Regions from separate parts of the Homo sapiens genome. Here region 1 is linked to region 2. The links are contacts of gene promoters, found by promoter capture Hi-C in human tissues and cell types (Jung and others, 2019). All regions are on one chromosome and are shown on one strand. Each heading gives the region's core, a stretch centred on a gene start or on the middle of the fragment in contact. The rest is flanking DNA. Distances are from core to core; before and after follow the strand shown. Region 1 has its middle 34 kb from the start of LINC02229. Region 2 holds the start of MAST4 (microtubule associated serine/threonine kinase family member 4).

Evidence for each region. The method cuts DNA at HindIII sites, captures the fragments that hold promoters and counts their contacts. A contact is called where the count stands out against the background at its distance.
Region 1: a fragment that was not itself captured here is called in contact with the fragment with the promoter of MAST4 in region 2 in 1 of the 25 tissues and cell types used here (liver).

What each region holds. Positions count from the first base shown.
Region 1 is chr5:66,543,329-66,548,362 of GRCh38, forward strand. No RefSeq gene overlaps it. Among named protein-coding and RNA genes, the nearest start is that of LINC02229, 34 kb to the left of the region's middle. The HindIII fragment of the contact is 4,535 bases long and covers 1,138-5,034 here.
Region 2 is chr5:66,592,576-66,597,896 of GRCh38, forward strand. It overlaps MAST4 (microtubule associated serine/threonine kinase family member 4), which reads left to right and starts at 3,818. Exons shown (of 29, transcript NM_001164664.2): 1 at 3,818-4,443. The coding sequence starts at 4,081. RefSeq lists silencers at 3,454-3,653, 4,264-4,403, 4,414-4,563. The HindIII fragment of the contact is 9,602 bases long and covers 1-5,321 here.

The DNA.
Region 1 (5,034 bases), core at 2,155-4,654, 50 kb before region 2:
TCCACCTCCTGTCAGATCAGTGTTGGCATTAGATTCTCACAGGAGCACAAACCCTATTGTGAACTGTGCATGCGAGGGATCTAGGTTGTGTGCTCCTTATGAGAATCTAATGCCTGATGATCTGTTACTGTGTCCCATCGTCCCCAGATAGGACCGTCTAGTTTCAGGGAATCAAACTTGGGGCTCCCACTGATTCTACATTATGGTGAGTTGTATAACTATTTCATTATATATTACAATGTAATAATAGAAATGAAGTGCCCAATAAATATACTGCACTTGAATCATCCCGAAACCATCTCTACCATCCCCCCAGCTCCCCAGTCTGTTTGTCTTCCACGAAACTGTTTCCTGCTGCCAGGAAGTTTGGGGATCACTGTTTTAAAGAGCAGTTTTTTTATTTTAATGGAGTCAAATTTACTTTTTTTTTTCCTTTATAGTTTGTGCTTTTTGTGTCCTAAGAAATCTTTGCCTAATGTGAGGTCACAAATATTTTTTCCTATGTTTTCTTTGAGAAGTTTTATAGTTTTAGCTCTTACATTAAGGTCTATGATCCATTTTGAGTTAATTTTTATGGGTGATGTAAGGTAAGGGCCACGTTTCTTTTCTTTCCTTATGAATGTCCAGTTGTTCTACATGATTATTTCACTACCGAATTCCTTTGGTACTTTTATTGAAAACCAGTTGACCGTACATTAGTGAGTGTGTTTATGGACTCTGCTATGATCCATTGATTTAAATGCCTATTCTTACATAAATATCATATTTTCTTATTGTAGCTTTGTAGTAAGTCTTAAAATCAGTTAGTGTAAGGTGTCCAACTTTGATCTTTCTTTACAAAATGTTTTGTCTGGTACAAGCCACTTGCATTGCCTTATAAATTTTAGAGAGAGCTTGTATATTTCTACAAAAAGACTGCTGAGAGTTTGGGATTGCATTGAATCTATACAGCAATTTGGAAAGAATTGACATCTTTACAAAATTAAATGTTCTAATGCATAAGCATGGTATACTTCTCCATTTTACATCTTTTTAAGTTTCTTGCTGCAATGTTTTACAATTTTCATTGTACAAATATTGTACATATTTTGTTAAATTAATATGTAAGTCTTTCATATGTTAGTGCTGTTATAAATGCTGTTGGATTTTTTAAGTTTAATTTCCAAATGTTCCTTAATAGTGTTTAGAATTACAATTGATTTTGTATATTAGCTTTGTATTCTATAACCTTGTAAAAATCACTTATTTGTACTAGTAGCTATCTTTTTACATTTTTTAGGACTTTTTACACGGCCTGTTTCACTGCTTCCTTCCTAATACATATTTTATTTCTTTCTACTGTCCATTGTAATTTTACTGCTTTCTTTCCAATCTATATGCCTTTTATTTCTTTTCTTGCCTTTCTGCATGATTTTAAGCATGATTTTAGCTGTAGAGTTTTTTGTACATGCCCTTTATCAGGCTAAAGAAGTTCCTTTCTATTTCTATCTGGCTGTGAGTTATTATTCTTAGATGCTGGATTATGTCAAATCTTTTCCTGACATCTATTGAGATCACCATATGTTTGGTTTTTCAGTTTGTTTTTAGTTTGCTAATATTGTGGGTTACATTAATTGATTTTCAAAGTTAAACTAACATTACATTCTTGGAATGATATCCACATGGTCACGATATATTATACATTGTATATATAGCTGGGTTTAATTTGCTAAAATCTTATTAAAATTTTATTATTGTTGGACCTTTATTTAAGAGGGATATTAGTTCCGTTGCTTTCCTTTCTTTGAATGTTTTTGTTTTGGTATTAAAATTAAGACAATGCTGACTTCTTAAAATGGAAATACTAGAATAGAATTTGTATTATTTCTTTCTTAAGTGTTTGGTAGAGTTCATCAATGAAACAGTCTAGGTTTGACATTTTCTTTGTGAGAAGGTCAAATTACAAATTCAGTTACTTTTCTAGATAGACTGTTCAAATGGTCTACCTTTTGGATGAGCTTTGATTATTTTTATCTTTCAAGGAATTGATCCTACTAATCTAAGTTGTCAAAATTATTGGTAAAAATTATGCATAATATTTTCTTATCCTTTTAACATTCATAAGATAACTCTTGATATTGGTAATTTGTGTTATATATTTTTAAAGTAATCAGTCTGGCTAGAGCCTTATCAATTTTATTGATCTTTTCAATAACCACATTTTTGTTTCACTGATTTTTCTCCAGTTTTTTTTTTTGTTTCATTTATTTCTGCTCTTGTCTTTTTATTTCTTTTATTCTACTTATTTTAGTTACAATTTGCTCTTATTTTTCTTGTTTATTAAGATGAGAAGCTTAGATAATTAAATTGAGATCTTTTATCTTTTCTAACATAAGCATTTAATGCTATAAATTCCCCTCCAAGGACATTTTAAACTGCATCCCACACATTTTGATATTTTTTGTTTTCATTTTTATTCCATTTAAAAATATTTCTCATTTCTCTTATAGTTTCTTCTTTGTTTTCATTTGTTATTTAGAAGTATTGTATAATTTCTAAATATTTGACCATTTCCCAGATATCTTTTTGGTATTTATCTCTAGTTTCATTCTTTTGTGGTCAGAAAACATATGTCATGTGACTTCAATTTATTAAAGACTTGTTTTGGCTCAGAATATTATCTATTTTGGTGAATTTCAATGTGTGCTTTAAAAATATGTATTCTGCTATTATTGGGTGACTATTAAACATAGTTTCAAACAGAATCAATTATGTTAATTTGTTGATGGTGTTGATTAAGTCTTCTATACCTTTATTATTTCCTGTTTACTTGTTTTATCAATGACTAAGATTAGAATTTTAAAATCTCCAATATAATTTTGGTTTTATCTATTTCTTCTTTTGGTTCTATCAGTTTTATTATACTTCATGTATTTTGAAGGTCTATTATTATATGCATATACCTTTAGGATTTTTATGTCTTTCTGTGAATTATCCTCTCCTTACTATGAAATGTATTATTTCTTGCTCTAAAGTAGGACTGTCCAATCTTTTGTCTTCCCTAGACCACACTGGAAGAAGAATTGTCTTGGGCCACATATAAAATACACTAACAGTAAAAATAGCTGATGAACTAAAAAAAGAAATAGCAAAAAAAAAAAAAAAACCTCATAATGTTTTAAGAAAGTTTACAAATTTGTGCTGGGCTGCATTCAAAGCCATCCTAGGCTGCATGCAGCCCACAGGCCATGATTTAGACAAGCTTGCTCTAAAGTCTATTTTGTCTGATACTAACACAGCTATTCTGGCTTTTTGTACTTAGTGTTTGCATGGTAAATATTTTTCAATTCTTTTACTCTTAACCTATTTTTGTCTGTACATTTAAAGTTAGTTTCTTTTTTTTTTTGTAAAGGCATCACACAGTTGGGTCTTGCTCTTTTTCTTAAAATCTCTGCCTTTTAATTAAAGTACTTAGGCTATTTACATTTAATGTAATTATTTCTATGGATGGGCTTAAATATAATATTTGACTATTTGTTTTTATGTTTGTTCTATCTACTCATTTCTTTTCTATTTCCAGTCTTCTTTTAGATTAATACTTTTTAAATGATTTCATTTTATTTCCACTCTTGGCTTCTTAGTGATACCTGTTTGTTTTATTTATTTTTAATGGTTATTCTAATGTTTACAGTATACATTTTTATTTTATCAAAGACTAATGTCAAATAATATTATACCATTTTACATATGGTTTATGAACCTTGTACCCGTTACTTGCACTTCTGTACTTTCACTATGTGTAATTGTTGCTATAAATTTTACTTCTTCATATGGTTTGTTTTACATGTTTAGAATATTTTTTTTTTACTTTAAACAGTCAATATTTTTTGTATACGATTTTTAAAAAGAGATAAAAGCAATATTTTGTATTTACTCACATACTTACCATTTCTGGCTCTCTTTAGTACTTTATGGATTTCCATCTGGTATCATTGAACTTCCTTTAATTTTGCTTATAATTCATGTTTGTTGGTAATGAATTTTAGTTGTTTAAAATATCTCTAGTTTGCTTTCAAATTTGAAGATATTTTTATGAGTAAAGATTTTTTATTTTTATTTAAATTAGTTTATTTTTAATTTTTGTGGCTACATAGTAAGTGTGTATATTTATGGGGTACATGAGATGTTTTAATATAGGCCTGCAATGCGTAATAATCACATCATGGAGAATGGGGTATCCAACCCCTGAAGCATTTGTTCTTTGTGTTACAAACAATCCAATTACATTATTTTTAAAGGTACAATTAAGTTGTTATCAACTATGGTCACCCTGTTGTGGTATTAAATAGTAGGTCTTATTCATTCATTCTAACTATATTTTATACTCATTAACCATCCCCACCTCCCCAGGAAAGATTTTTAGATTGACATTTTGTTCTTTTCATATGTTAAAGATGGCTTACCATTGTCTTCTGACTTGCATAGTTTCTTGTAAGAAGCTTGATACCATTCTTGTCATTATCCCTTTTTACATATCTTTCTTCTCTGGCTACTTTAAAAAATTTTTTCTTTATCAATTGATTTTAGTAATTTAATTATAATGTGGCAAAGTATATTTTCTTTATTTCATTCTGCTTGAATAAATTGAGCTTCTTGAATCTGAAAGTTTATAGGTTTTATTAAATTTGGAAAATTTTGACCATTGTTTAAATATTTTTTGTTCCCTCCCCTCTTTTTTTCTGAGGCTCTAATTACACATATATTGGCCCACTTGATAGTGTCCCACAGGTCACTATTACCCTCTTCTTATTTTTTCATTTGTTTTTCTGTTTCATTTTGGTTATTTCCATTATTATGCCTTAAAATTTATTGCTCTTTCCTTTTCAGTGTCTATTTACTATTAATTCTACACAGTGTATTTTTTATTTAAGATGTTAGTTTTTTTCTTCAGTAGTTTATTTGGATCTGTTTTATATAATTAATTTTTTTCTCCATATCATGGTCATGTTTTCCTTTATCTTCTTAAACATATACAGGATATTTATAATAGCTGTT
Region 2 (5,321 bases), core at 2,568-5,067:
AAATAGTCTACCAAAGTTGGATAATATAATCATCTTCATAATTCAAAGATAATCTGATATTTAGGATTTTTAGTGCATTAAATAGAAACATATTTACTTGTGATTTTGCAAAAATGTTCGTTCTGAGTTCATGATGTTCTAATTTCATCTATGTAAGAAAGAAGGACAACTGACCTTCCTCCCAACCTGATGTTTGGGAGAAAGGTCATGACACTGGGAGTAGACTTAAGGGTATGATGACTTTGCTGGAACATCGTCCATCTGGCAGAGACAGCTTGACATTCACAATAGGCCTCACCTACACAGCAGAGACTGGCAGAGACAACAGAGACTCCCAGAGGAAATGTCTCCCGTCACTTCTGAGAAAAACATAGAAACCGGAGGGGGGCATTCAATCACAAAACACAATGAATACTTACCGGATTCCCAGGGGTGCTGTCCTTGAATCAAATACTTTGTGAGCATGTCTCACAGAACACATGGAAACTGATTACCTTGGAGTACACCGACCTTGTCTCTCCTCGCCTTAGGCTAGTCTGGTTCTGTCATGTGACGCTACACTATTGGCTTTTCAGGAGTTGTGATGATGTTGTTTTTATTTTTCTGGCTCCTGCCTATGGTGACACTGCAGAGAAAAACCTGTGCTTTCACACTCACCTCTGGTCCCACAGTCTCCAACACTAGACACGTTTATAAAAAGGTCTCTTGGAGGGGGCACATTTCTGACCACTGAGGAAAATATTTATTATTTAATTAACAAGATAGGAAAGTTGAACTTCAGGATTTGGATAAATCAAAACTGATTTTGGTCCAGTGGTTTGGCCACACCCCAGGAAATTTATCCATGGGTCTAACTAGGATACTTTTGGGGAACTATCCTGACTCTCTAGTCATCTTCTATTTATAGTTATCCTTTGAGTTGGCCATGTTCTGGTCTGGATACTCTTAGCCTGAACTACAGTTTATTTCCCTCACAGGTGGGTGTGGAGATGAACAAGTACACTTTTAAACTGCAAGTTTTGAAGTAGAGTTTGAAATCTATTTAGTGGACTACAACTAGCATCTTTATTTTTAATAAAATATAAATTTCAGGGTGCATTGCTTAAAGGATGGGTAAGTATTGTCTCATGACATTTTATTTGTATTTGTACATATGCATATGTGTCATGAGTTCCAGTGTGAAATATATTTCTTATTTGAGGTTCAGGTTTAAAAAGTTCAAGAAATACTGATCTAGTACTTGACTTTGATCTGTAGAGGTTAAGAGCACAAATGCTGGGACCAAATGTTCAAATCTGAATCCTGGGTCCATCATTTGCTAGCTGTGTGACTTTAGCTGAATTACTTAACTTCTCTGTCATAGTTTTCACATATTTCACAAATATGATATGAGAATAGTAATAGTAGCTACCTCATTGGGCTGGTATGAGAATTGAGTATATTAACATTTTAAAGTGCTTAAAATCCTGCCTGGCACATAGTAAGTACCTTAAAAATGTTTGTGGGAAAAACAAATATGTTCCTCAAGTATTTTCTTTTACAGATTGAATCAATACAGCAAAGTTTCTTCCCTATGGATATTTATAATATGGTATATATATATATTTGAAAAAGCTGTCTGTTTTGAGTGGCATTGTATTAATACTAGAATGCCTAGGAAAGACAGCCTTGGAATCAGGTTGCTGGGTTCCAAACCACAGCTCCACTGCTTACTTGCTGTGTGACCTTTGCAGATCCTCAGTTTCTTAATCAATAAAGTGGGACTAATAGAATCTGTTTCACAAGGTTGTTGCCAGGATTAAATGAGACCATCCAGAGAAGATGCAGAGGACTCAGGCGATAATAACTATTGTCATTCTTGCTGTCGGTTATTCAGACCATGACCTTGCTTCTTATTTCCCTATGTACTGAAAAGCAACTCCTCCTCTTCTTTTATGTGCATGGCTGAAATTGTCATTTCAGTTCAGCTCTGGTGAATCAACCACGTAGGGGCTCAGATAAAGACCAGAACTCCTAAATAGGAAAGTAATTGTGAGGCCCGGGTTAAATTCGGACTGCCCCACTGTGCTCTCTCTTTAGCCTTGCTCTCACAACTTAGCTGCCACTAGACTTGACCTTTTGCCTCAGCAGGTCTTCATATCCCTGTGAATAATTCAGAAGCGTCACAATGAAAGCCTGACAACCGGAGTCCATTTTGCAGTATGGCTGTCTGAAGCAAGATAGACAAAACGTATTTCCTTCCCCTTCATCTTGAGGGGAGGAAACTGATCAGGACAAAGGTTGCTGTCCAATATGATGAAGCCCTCTGTGTGATGTATCACTTGTAAATACCATGATAGCATGAAAGGCTCATTAGCTGAAGGGGCTTTCAATTAGGGTCCTCCAGTTTTTAAGGACCTTTGGCAAGGCTGCTCTGACAAAGAGAAATCTAAGATGCTCAAGGACCTGCTACTGTTTTTCTGTAACTCTTTCCTCTTCTCCCTCACACATTTTTCCTGTATCACTTATCACAGCTTCTAAAATGGATAAGGGAGCTATATTATGCAGTATCAATCTCTCGCTTGACCATAAGCTGCTCAAGGGCAGGGGACCTGACTTATTAATCTTTGTATCCCCTGCACCTGGCACACATCTCCATCAACGTACATGGAACTGAGGCGGTTGAATTTACATCCCAGGTCACTGTGCCAGAGCTCAGAATGGGACTAGAGCTGAAGGCAAGAGAGGAATCATTTATTTCCCACTGCTGAGCTGAGTGCTGGCTTCCAAGGAAATTCCAGTCACCGGACAGGCAGCATCCTCCAGCCCCAGGGAAGGACTTAAGGGTACTCTATTGGTACCTTTAGTGAAAGTTCTTTCTCCTAGTTCTTAGAGGTAAGGAAAATGAAGCAACCTGTCCTGTATCCTGTTGGTTTACAACCCAGGGCTAGGAGAATGTACATTGGAAAGTGAATCCTTTTCATCCTCTGCTTAGCTGATCATACCGAGACAGACAATTTGAGTAGGACTACAGAGCTTGGTCCTAATTAAATACAAGGACATACTTTTTTATCTTCCTCCCTATCAAAAGGTTCAAGTCTCAGACTTAACTTTTTAGTTTACAAACAGAAATAAAGACAGGAAATAGTCTTTTAAAAACGCTCCGTGTATCCAAGCCAGGCACTTTGCTGATGCATTATATATATTTGCTCTAAGCCTGCCAAGACCAGTAGTAATGTAGCCATTTACAGTTGAGGAAACTGAGGCCCAAAGAGCTTAAACGGAAAAGCAGAGATTAGAGGTCACTCCCCTTTGGGTCCGCTCACTATACCACGAAGTTTCTGTCCTTTTCCTCCAACACGCTGGTGAGTCCGTGTGCGTGGGTGACTGTGTGTGTGTGGTTCCTTTTTTCCCTATAGAGCCCTCCTTCTTGTCCGTTTTCTTGATTCCACTTTTTGGAGACAAAGTCCAGTTCTTCTCCAAGGTCTCACCATCCGCTCGCCGTCTCCCTCTGACGTCCCAAGGACGGTCAGCCACTCCCCCGCTAAGTTCGGAGTCTCAGCCCTTGGCTCCGATTCTGGGCTCCGCCCCCACCCTCCGGGGACCCCCGCCTGGTCCCTGTCCCCTGCGCCCAGGCGCTCCAGCGGGACCACGGCCCGCGCCCGGGCCCCGCCTCCCCTACCTGAGGCCCTCATGGCCGGAGGCGTCGCAGCCTCCGCCCACCAGCGCGCCTGCCCTGCCATTGGCTCTGCGGGCTGCCCGTCTCCTTGCTCCGTCCCGGAGGCAGGTTTTGCAAGGAGAAGCCGCAGTACCCGCGGCTCGGGTGCAGCGCGGGAGCACAGTGGAGCGCAGATCGCGGACCCGAGCGGGCATGTCCCCGCGCGCGGGAGCCTCCGTTTGCGGCCGGGCCCGGGCGGCTGTGAACTTAGCAGCGGGCTCCTGCGGCCCCGTCACTGCCATGTAGTCGCTGGCGGGGCTCCCTGCAGCCCGGGAGCGGCAGTGCCAGTGAGCCTGAGCCCAGGAGCCCGCGTCTTCCCCGGGAGGCGCTGAGTGCGCGCCGCGCCCCCGCCGCTCGGGAGGCACTTTGGGCCAGACAGGGAAATGGGGGAGAAAGTTTCGGAGGCGCCAGAGCCGGTGCCCCGCGGCTGCAGTGGCCACGGCAGCCGGACTCCAGCCTCTGCGCTGGTCGCCGCGTCCTCTCCGGGTGCTTCCTCGGCCGAGTCCTCCTCGGGCTCAGAAACTCTGTCGGAGGAAGGGGAGCCCGGCGGCTTCTCCAGAGAGCATCAGCCGCCGCCGCCGCCGCCGTTGGGAGGCACCCTGGGCGCCCGGGCGCCCGCCGCGTGGGCTCCGGCAAGCGTGCTGCTGGAGCGCGGAGTCCTTGCGCTGCCGCCGCCGCTTCCCGGAGGAGCTGTGCCGCCCGCGCCCCGGGGCAGCAGCGCGTCCCAGGAGGAGCAGGACGAGGAGGTGGGCCTTTCCCCAGCTTGCCCACTCTGGGTTCCGGCAGCCGGGCGACCGTAGTTTCCCATCCTGCGCACAGGCAGTGGGCAGGAGAGCGCTGTGGCCTGGAGATAGGGAGGGACCCCAAGCGCTCTGCCCCGAGCACGGGACAACGATAGTTAGGAGCCCCCCTGTGGGTTATTGACTTCCCTGTGGCTGTTACCCCCGTGTGTGTGTCTCAGTGTGCTGCCTGATGGTGTGTTTTTAAAATGTCAGAGAAGCAAACTCCTTCGTGTTTGTATCTGACTTGGTTGATCTGTGAAAGGATGCGATCTGGACATCTGGCGTGTCCCCACAACTCACCTCTGATTCTCCAAAGTGGGCGTTGTTTCCCACCGAAGCGCTTGGGCCGAGGGGCAGGGAGTTGAGGGGGAGAAATGGTGCCTTGGGGGTAAGAGGCAGGAGTAGGGTGGGGGGCAGCGGTAGCCGCGGAGTTGCCTGCGGAGGTTTCAGTGGCGCCAGCCCCCTGGGATCGCCCGCGGGTGGTTTTGGCGCGTCCCCGCAGCGTCGGTCCTCTGGGAGAAGAGGACTCCCCGCGCTCCCTCGGTGGCGCTGGCGTGCGCGCCTGCAGCTCCCGTTCAGACTTGTTTCCAGCTTGTCCAGATGAACGCTTGTCACCAAACCGAGTACAGATCGTCTTACCTTTTGCGGGGCGGAGCGGGGTGGGGGATCTGTATCTGCCCAGTTTCCTGGAAGGATGTTCCTCCAGAACTTGTGGGTCGCTTCCTGACACACTGAGCATAGGACTCTGGTGTCCTTCTGGCTGCTCTGTCCGGCTTATTTTCTGCTTTTGGAGGACAGTTAAAGAAGTGTACAATTCTTCACGTCTCAGAGCCAGACTCAGT